3 separate regions of the Homo sapiens genome follow, and regions 1 and 3 are each linked to region 2. Evidence: promoter capture Hi-C in 16 types of primary human blood cells and fetal thymus (Javierre and others, 2016). All regions are on one chromosome and are shown on one strand. Each heading gives the region's core, a stretch centred on a gene start or on the middle of the fragment in contact. The rest is flanking DNA. Distances are from core to core; before and after follow the strand shown. Region 1 has its middle 13 kb from the start of DMBT1. Region 2 holds the start of BTBD16 (BTB domain containing 16). Region 3 has its middle 9.3 kb from the start of SPADH.

Evidence for each region. Contacts are between HindIII fragments. The CHiCAGO score rates a contact against its expected background, and 5 or more counts as called.
Region 1: a fragment that was not itself captured here is called in contact with the fragment with the promoter of BTBD16 in region 2 in 3 of 17 cell types (M1 macrophages, endothelial precursors and total B cells); the score reaches 6.8 in M1 macrophages.
Region 3: a contact is called between a fragment that was not itself captured here and the fragment with the promoter of BTBD16 in region 2, in 1 of 17 cell types (M1 macrophages). The highest score is 5.5, in M1 macrophages.

Annotation. Positions count from the first base shown.
Region 1 is chr10:122,546,080-122,548,779 of GRCh38, forward strand. No RefSeq gene overlaps it. Among named protein-coding and RNA genes, the nearest start is that of DMBT1, 13 kb to the right of the region's middle. The HindIII fragment of the contact is 1,095 bases long and covers 735-1,829 here.
Region 2 is chr10:122,270,046-122,272,745 of GRCh38, forward strand. BTBD16 (BTB domain containing 16) reads left to right here and starts at 1,251. Exons shown (of 16, transcript NM_144587.5): 1 at 1,251-1,469. The HindIII fragment of the contact is 5,650 bases long and covers 1,224-2,700 here.
Region 3 is chr10:122,662,162-122,664,861 of GRCh38, forward strand. No RefSeq gene overlaps it. Among named protein-coding and RNA genes, the nearest start is that of SPADH, 9.3 kb to the right of the region's middle. RefSeq lists an enhancer at 2,534-2,700. The HindIII fragment of the contact is 159 bases long and covers 1,251-1,409 here.

The DNA.
Region 1 (2,700 bases), core at 32-2,531, 280 kb after region 2:
ACATAATCCATGGTATAATCAAAACGCAAACTTACTTTTTGTCTTTGCACCTTAATTTTTTTTTTTTTTTTTGAGACGGAGTCTCGCACTGTCGCCCAGGCTGGAGTGCAGTGGCGCGATCTCGGCTCACTGTAACCTCTGCCTCCCGGGTTCATGCCATTCTCCTGCCTTAGTAGTATCTTTCCCTGCTCCAGGACGAAAACTTGCGTGGGTCCTTCTTCAGTAACAGAGTGCTATGGTTACTTTAAATCACAGAGCAGAGTTTTGGGGCTGGCCACCTGGGGGCCAGCAGAGGCATGGGCACTAAACCCAGATGCTTGGACAGTAGAGTCACCCACCACTGCTTGAGCCAACTGGCCTGGGCAGGAAGCATGTCACACAAGATCTGCTTCTACAAGGCTGCAGTGACGGGCAGACTGGAGAGGACCAGGTTTCAATACAGCGTCAGAGAACCACAGGGAGAGACGGGGTCGGGGCTGAAGCACACGAGACCACATTTGGGACCTTGGCATGATCCGAGGAGGCAGGAGGACCCCTGAGGATGATGGATGTGGGCCTCCTAAGCAACACTGGGGAATGGGAGGTTTGTGGCATGGTTTGATTGAATCAAGGAAGATTAATGTGGAGATTTTTCCATCTGAATATCTCCACTGCATGTGATAAAAATACAAACATATCATCCTTCTTAAACACCTTTGTTTGGAAGGGTTATTTTATAAAAAATGTAAAGTAAAAGCTTCCCTTAATATATTTTGCTCTTTAAAAATGAAACATATTATCCTTAAAAAAAGAATGGAGCCAGGCATGGTAACTCTTGCTCAGGAGGCTGAGGGGAGAGGATTGCTTGAGTCCAGGGGTTCAAGACCAGCCTGGGCAACATAGCAAGGCCCTTGCTTCTAAAAAAATTAGACTTTCTTTTGTTATTTCATTGTAAAATTTAAAATGGTTTGGGAATTACATTTTGATCACTTGTTGCAGCAATTTGTTGAAGAGACCATTTTAAGTCCAAGTATGAATCAAATTATACCTCATTTTAAACTCATGCTAACTGCTTTCTTGTCAAGACATTAGAATTTTCTTTCTTCTTTTCTTTCTTTCTTTTTTTTTTTTTTTTTTGAGACAGGCTCTCACTTTGTTACCCAGGCTGCAGTACAGTGGCATGATCTTGGCTCTTTGCAGCCTCGACCTCCTAGGCTCAAGCGATCTCTTGCTTTAGCCCCCTACAAGTAGCTGGGACTATAGGTGTGCTCCACCACGCCCAGCTAATTTTTTTGTAGAGACAAGGTTTTGTCACGTTGCCCAGGTTTTGTCACGTTGTCTCGAACTCCTGGGCTCCAGTAATTCATCTGCCTCGGCCTCCCAAAGTGCTGGGATTACAGGTGTGAGGCACCGTGCCTGGCCTGGAATTTTCTAAAGTGGTTTGTGGTCAGACACTTGTAAGATCTGAGGACATGTTTCCCAGGAATGTGAAGGATCATCTTGACAGCATCCCATGGGGCCCAGAGTAAGCCCTACACTGCTCTGGGAAGCGTCATCCAATCCCTCAAATCCATGCAGTCCTGGCTTCTGCCAGGCACTGGCACATGCTGCCCTCCTGATACAGCATGACAGACAACCTGGGCTCTGTTAGTGGCTTTATTTTCACCTTTAAATTTAAAAAACAATTTCTTCAAGTAATAATTCAAAACAACCAGTGGTTTTCTATTTCTAAAAAAGTAATCCATGACATAAATGAAGATTCGAACTTATGAATGTCTAGGCACTGCCAGGTACTGTCTCAGAAATCTTTCACTATCGTCCATCTAACTCTTAGCTGTTCTCCAAATTCAAGCTTACAGAGGTCTTTGATTTCACCTAAGTTTTTTTTCTTAAAATCAAGTGTCTTCTGAGGTTTGTAGTGCACATCTCTAGTGCCAGTTCTGATTCACAGGTCTTGAAGTGGCTTAGTGGTTTTCATCGGTTATTTTCCAACGCACCAGTGACTTTTCTCCCCAGCTGGATTATAAATTCCTCAGGCTGGGATTGCAGCTTTCCAGACCCCTGGCACAGGCTATTTGGTGCAGTTGTGCTCAAGAAATGTGTGCATCTCCATGCATCTCAATACAGACACACCGCCATTTCTTATTCTATCTTCTGTCTTTATAAAATTCATCTCTGACCACTTTATAAAATTCGTCAAGAACCTGCCAGAGCTCCCCATTTCCTACTGAATTAAATACAGAGTCCTCTATGAGCTCTTTGAGATCACTGCCTTGCAGCCCAAACTTCCTTTCTTCTATTCCCAAATGAATATGAGACTGCATCAATGTGAATCTCCACCTGGGTTTGTAGCCAGGCGGGCATGCTCAGCATCTGTAGGCCTCAGTTCTCACACACCTGGCCATGCATCACCTTCGCCTGGGAATTGTGTCTATTTCACCACAATTAAAATAACCTGGGAAGCTTGAAAAAAATCTCTAGGCCTTATATCAACCTTAGCATATGAAAATCCGTGGGGTGTGAGGCCCAGGCATGCAAATTTTAAACCAACACACCCGATGATGCTTATATACTGCCCAGCACAGCTCATGGCCCCGAATTTGGAATCAGTCTTGAGCAAACTGTCAGTCTGCCACTGCATTTAGCAACATAGAAACACAAAAAGGACTTTTAATGATCTCTTACTCTCTGTAAGTTTCTATGGTTCAGTTAAGACACTTT
Region 2 (2,700 bases), core at 1-2,500:
CACAGAACATTCCACAGCGATCGGCTTCTGTGCAAAGCAGAATATGGTGTTGGGAGGAGTAGAATCACAGGATTTGAGGGCTGAGGCGGGAGACAAATTCAGGGGTACCTCCCATTTATAGAGTGTTTCGTAGTTTCTAGATCACAGCCACAGGAGGCAGCGCAGCTACTTTCCCGTTTTACTTTAGGATGTATGTGGCCTAGGAGAGGCTGGCCTTGGGTCTTAAAAGCTGTACTGCCTCCTGGTTCCTATTACTGTAACTAGGGATTTCTGTGATCCCTGGGGTGGTGGTCCAGGCCTTTGATGGACCCGTGGTGACCCATGTGACTCTGACCCACATGGCCTCCACCTCCCCATCCCCTAGTTTGGGTCATGGGCTTCACAGGCCACGTCGCTGAGGACACTGTAAGATTGCACTTAGGGCCAGGTGCGGTGGCTCACACCTGTAATCTCAGCACTTTGGGAGGCCGAGGTGGGCAGATCACCTGAGGTCAGGAGTTCGAGACCAGCCTGGCTAATATGGTGAAACCCTGTCTCTACTAAAAATACAAAAATTAGGCCGGTGTGGTGGCGGGCACCTGTGATCCCAGCTATTCAGGAGGCTGAGGCACAAGAATTGCTTGAACCCGGTGAACCTAGGAGGCGGAGGTTGCAGTGAGTCAAGATCACACCACTGCACTCCAGCCTGGGCGATAGAGTGAGACTCCATCTCAGAGAAAAAAAAAAAGCAAAACAAAACAAACAAATCCCAAACATTTCCACTCTGGATGCCAGCTTGAAGGCTCTTGGTCTTGTCCTTGACTTTTAGGCAGTCCTTAGCTCCCAGAGAGAGCAGCATTAAAAATCATCATCAGCAAAGTACTTCATTAGGCATAGCTTTTAATAATGCGGAATGCTCAATTTTTATTGAAATATGTTTGTCAAAACACAGATAGAAAATGCTAGAAATAGAGCACCCCAGAATGCCAGAGCTGGGAGGCATCTGAGAAGCTTCTAGTCTAATCTTCTCCTTTGACAGATGAAGCCTGAAGATTTGGGGGTTGGTTCTCACTGAGGCTGTGCCCTGGGTTGCCCCAGGTGCTGTGAGGAACAGGAATGGAGGCACATGGCACCCACACTGGTCTCTGAGATGCCATCACTCACAGCTTCTCCCCATCAGCCAGGGCCTTGGACACAGCCCGAGCCTGAGTTGAAACCTGGCCCTGGAACAGGAAGTGCTTGGAAGCTTCCCTGCCGTTGCCGTGGTGCTCACAACCACCCAGGAAACCAAGGCAAGCTCCCCCTGTCAAAGCACCTTGGCCCATAAGAAGAAAAGGGGGAGCCCCAGATGTGATGAGCGCTTCCAGGCTTCAGGCTCAGAAGGCGCCCCCAGCTCTCCTGTAACTCAGAGGCCAGTGTGATGGGAGTTCCTCCACTCAGCACACTTCCCCTGTAAACACGCCTGTGGTGGGCAAAAGGGCTTTGGAACGGTAAGTACAATGGGTATTTTTCAGCCACTTCAGAGACCAAGAAATGTGTCCTAGTGACAGGTGCTGTCTTAGCACCTGTCTAGACCCAGTGTTAGACTTGGGTGCCTCTGGTCTACTTGGCAGGGAGGGAGTTTAGGGAATCAGGAGGGGTCTGGGAGCTGAGAGACCATTGTAGGTAGCTCCTGCCCGCCCACAGGGACCTTGGCACAGGCTCTCAAAACACACGAAGGGGCAGATTGCCTGGTGGGATGAAAAAAGAACACATTTCCAGGCCATTGAGATGTCTCTGGATTTCAAGATCAGCTAAAAAAGTTCTTAGATATTGATCTAAGAAAGCAGGAGCTTTGGGTAGCTGAGTGCAAACCCCAGCCTCCCTCTCTCTGTAACTGAAGCGGTGCTCTGTGGGCATAGCGAGTCCCGTGTGGGGTTTATTCTGTGCTGACCAGGTCTGCTTTAGAATGGAACCCTCTTCTCTCTTCTCAGATTCCTTAAGGCCACGTTGAGGATTTGGGGGTCTATGTCTAGGGCAGTGGGAAGCTGGTGAAGGGCTTTAAGCTGAGGAGTTCATCATCCTGGCTCCTGTGAGGTAAAGGGATCAGAAAAGCATGTATGTGTTACCTGAGGTGGGAGAAGCCTCACGCAAGGTGGAAACTCAGCCATCAAGGAAAACACACATTGCTGTAAACTCAAGTGCACCTCTGAAAGCTGGTTGAACAGCCAAAGATGCTCTTAACACACATGCATACATGGATGCAATTGCAGATGAAGACACCAGCAGCTGGGTACAAACACCAGGGCCATGTTTGTACCCAGACACGTTTCTTTTTCTTTTTTCTTTCCCCTCGAGACAGAGTTTCGCTCTTGTTTCCCAGGCTGGAGTGCAATGGTGAGAGTTTGGCTCACTGCAACCTCCACCTCCAGAGTTCAAGTGACTGTCCTGCCTCAGCCTCCCAAGTAGCTGGGATTACAGGCATGCGCCACCACACCCAGCTAATTTTGTATTTTTAGTAGAGACAAGGTTTCATCATATTGGTTAGGCTGGTCTTGAACTCCTGACCTCAGGTGATCCACCTGCCTTGGCCTCCCAAAGTGCTGGGATTACAGGCATGAGCCACTGGGCCTGGCCCCAGATATGTTTTCAAATTAGAGACTGGCAAAGGAAATACACACACACACACACACACACACACACAGGACATATTTTCATACTAATGAAACAATTTGTTTACCA
Region 3 (2,700 bases), core at 80-2,579, 390 kb after region 2:
CTTTCCTCAAGTGAGTGCTCAGGATGTGATTTCCTTTGTTGATGGTATAGTTTGCTGGGATGAAATCCACATGGCGTCTTGCCAGTTTACCCCCACCCAACCCAGAGGCCTCTAAATAGAATTGGAGGCTTCCACTCCTGCTGCAAATGCATTTAGTGCCTCCCTGTCTTCCAGGTCAGGTGCTCTCTCCTTAGCCTGCATTGCAAAATACTTCCCAATGTGGCTCCTGGACCTCTCCTCCCCTCCACCCACTCCTGCCCTCGGCCCCCTCCACACTGGGGTTCCTGGCACCACCTGTGAAGCAGCTCCATGCCATTGCTCACACTGGGCTCTGATGAGAACGCCTACTTCTACCCCTGTCAGACTCATCTGCCCTATCCTTAGGGTCCTCTACGAGGATTTCATGATTCAGCTGGAGGCCCAGCTCTTCTGTAGTGTCTGCGTGACTCCTTCCCAGACGGGCAGAGCTCTTTCTTTTGCACCCTACTAGATACCTTCAGAAAAGGCCGAGTTGTCTTTTCAATGTACACCGACACTTGTTTCATTCTTTGACGCCACTGCAATGAAAGCTCTCTTTTGGGGTTCAAGGCAAAATTGTTAATGAATGAATACATGAATGAATGATTGAATGAATGAAAGCAGTGATAAGATCCCAGAAGGCAGAAAACCCTGTAGCATTTATACCCAAGACAGTCTGTTTTGATTGAGCATGGCAGCCACATTTCCATCAATTCCAGACAAAGCCAAACACAACCCAGGATGTGGATGAGAAAGATGATGGAATATATGTGACTAAGGTCCCCCTTTCCCTCCACACTGGCTTTTGGGCTGGGACCTCAAGGTTATGCAGGTGCTCTGTGTGACAAAGGACATCTTTTGGATGGCTGCCTCAGATACAGAACTTAGACCATTTGCCCAACACGGGCTCCAGTGATTCTGAAAAAGGACTTGCAGCACAGGAGACCAAGATGGAGAAACAAGGAGAGAAGGAGGTTGGAGTTGGGAATTCCCTGTGCCACCATTTTTCCGGGCTCAGAAGGATTGGCAGCTCTGAACATTTTCCTGTATTGTCCTTTTGCCCTTTTCAAAGATTGGTTTTAGATCTCACTGTCCTTGGCATCAAGGAAGCACTCAGGCTGGGCCAAAAGCAAAACTAGTATGAAGTCAACCCTGTGTGTGTCCTAATGGGATATGTCTTAACTGTCTTCTCATACTTCAAATAAGCTGTAAACACTCTCCCATGTACATAAAGCTTGCTGGGGGCTAATTGAGGATGAGAGGTCAGGTTTGAAGACTGAAGGGGGTAAGAGGAGTGGGGAGACCCCTCAGGAGGGCGACATTCCATGTCCACAATATCTCACTGTAGGTAAGAAATGGAGGCCCCTCCCTGCCTTGAGTCAGGGAAGCCAAGCTTGGGCTGGGGACCCTTGTTGCCCCTCTATTTGCCAAGGGCAGGAATCACAGAGTGGCATCCACACACTCATGTCTGGAGCATCTCATCCTGACACAGAGGCTGTGGCTGAAAACACATGTCCCTGAGATGCAGATTTTGTAGCTTGTGGGGCCTGAAACACAGCTGGTGGCTGGAATTAAAATTCCTGAGTGGTATTCCCATCCACAGGCAGGGCTTCCAAGGGCACTCGGAAGACGCCTGCAGTCCTGGTGAAGAAAACATTTATTTTATTCAGGGGTTATGGAAAGAGACTAATCTGTGTGCAGAAGAGCTGTTAGACTTTCCATTCCTTGCTCGCCCCGGGCCTTGCACTTCTGAGAAGTAAGCTAATGAGAGCTGGTGCCACTCGCTGGGGAGGAAGCTGCCTGCTGGAGTTAGGCTGATTCCAAATGCTGACACCTGTCAGTTCTCTGCCCCACAGCCTCACCTATGGGAGTGAACAGGTAGAAGTCTTGGATGGATCTCTGGGGTCCAGATCCCTGAGCAAAATGTGTAAAGATATGTCCCTGACCTACCAATCCTCTTCCAATATTATGACCATCACATATAACAGAACTTTCAGCCAACCATCCACATTCTTTGTGGGATGCATATTACCATAGTGACTCAGAAGGTAGGTGGGGAAGGGGAAAACCTGCTGATTCTCCCCTTCTCTGTGGAAGCCAGCTGAGTGGCATGCTGCATATAGAGATGTTTCTGTGACTGCCAGAAAAAAAGGTGAGACCGCTTTCCAGTGGCCAAGTATTGAGTACAGGTAGTACAAAAAATGCATTGGGACATACGATTATAGCCTGGAGCAACTCATGTTGACACATGAGTAGAATAATGCCCAGTCTGTATCCCCAGAGGCTTGTATTCAGTTGAGTACTGAAACCAGCTCACACAGAGTCAAGTGGCAGCACAAGAAGCAATGGCCCCCGACACGTCCACCAGGCAATGGGTGGAAGCTGCAGACACTGTGAGGTCTGAGGTCGGCCCCACATGCGCTGATCACACCAGGCTTCCCAGTGAGGTGGAGCTCAGGCCTGGCCTCCGGCATGGGGAGGTCTGGGAAGACTGCAAAGGACGTGCTGGGCAGGTTCCATGACCAGGAGTGGAGTCACCTGAGTGGGGCGAACTGAAGGACAAGGAGAGAGAGGCACTTCCTCATGGGCCCTGTAGGCATTGCTGGTGCAGAGATGTGTGCACTGGGGTGGTTTGGGGCAGGACGGCTGGGTGGAGCATTTGAGAGGCTCAGACATGAGGCT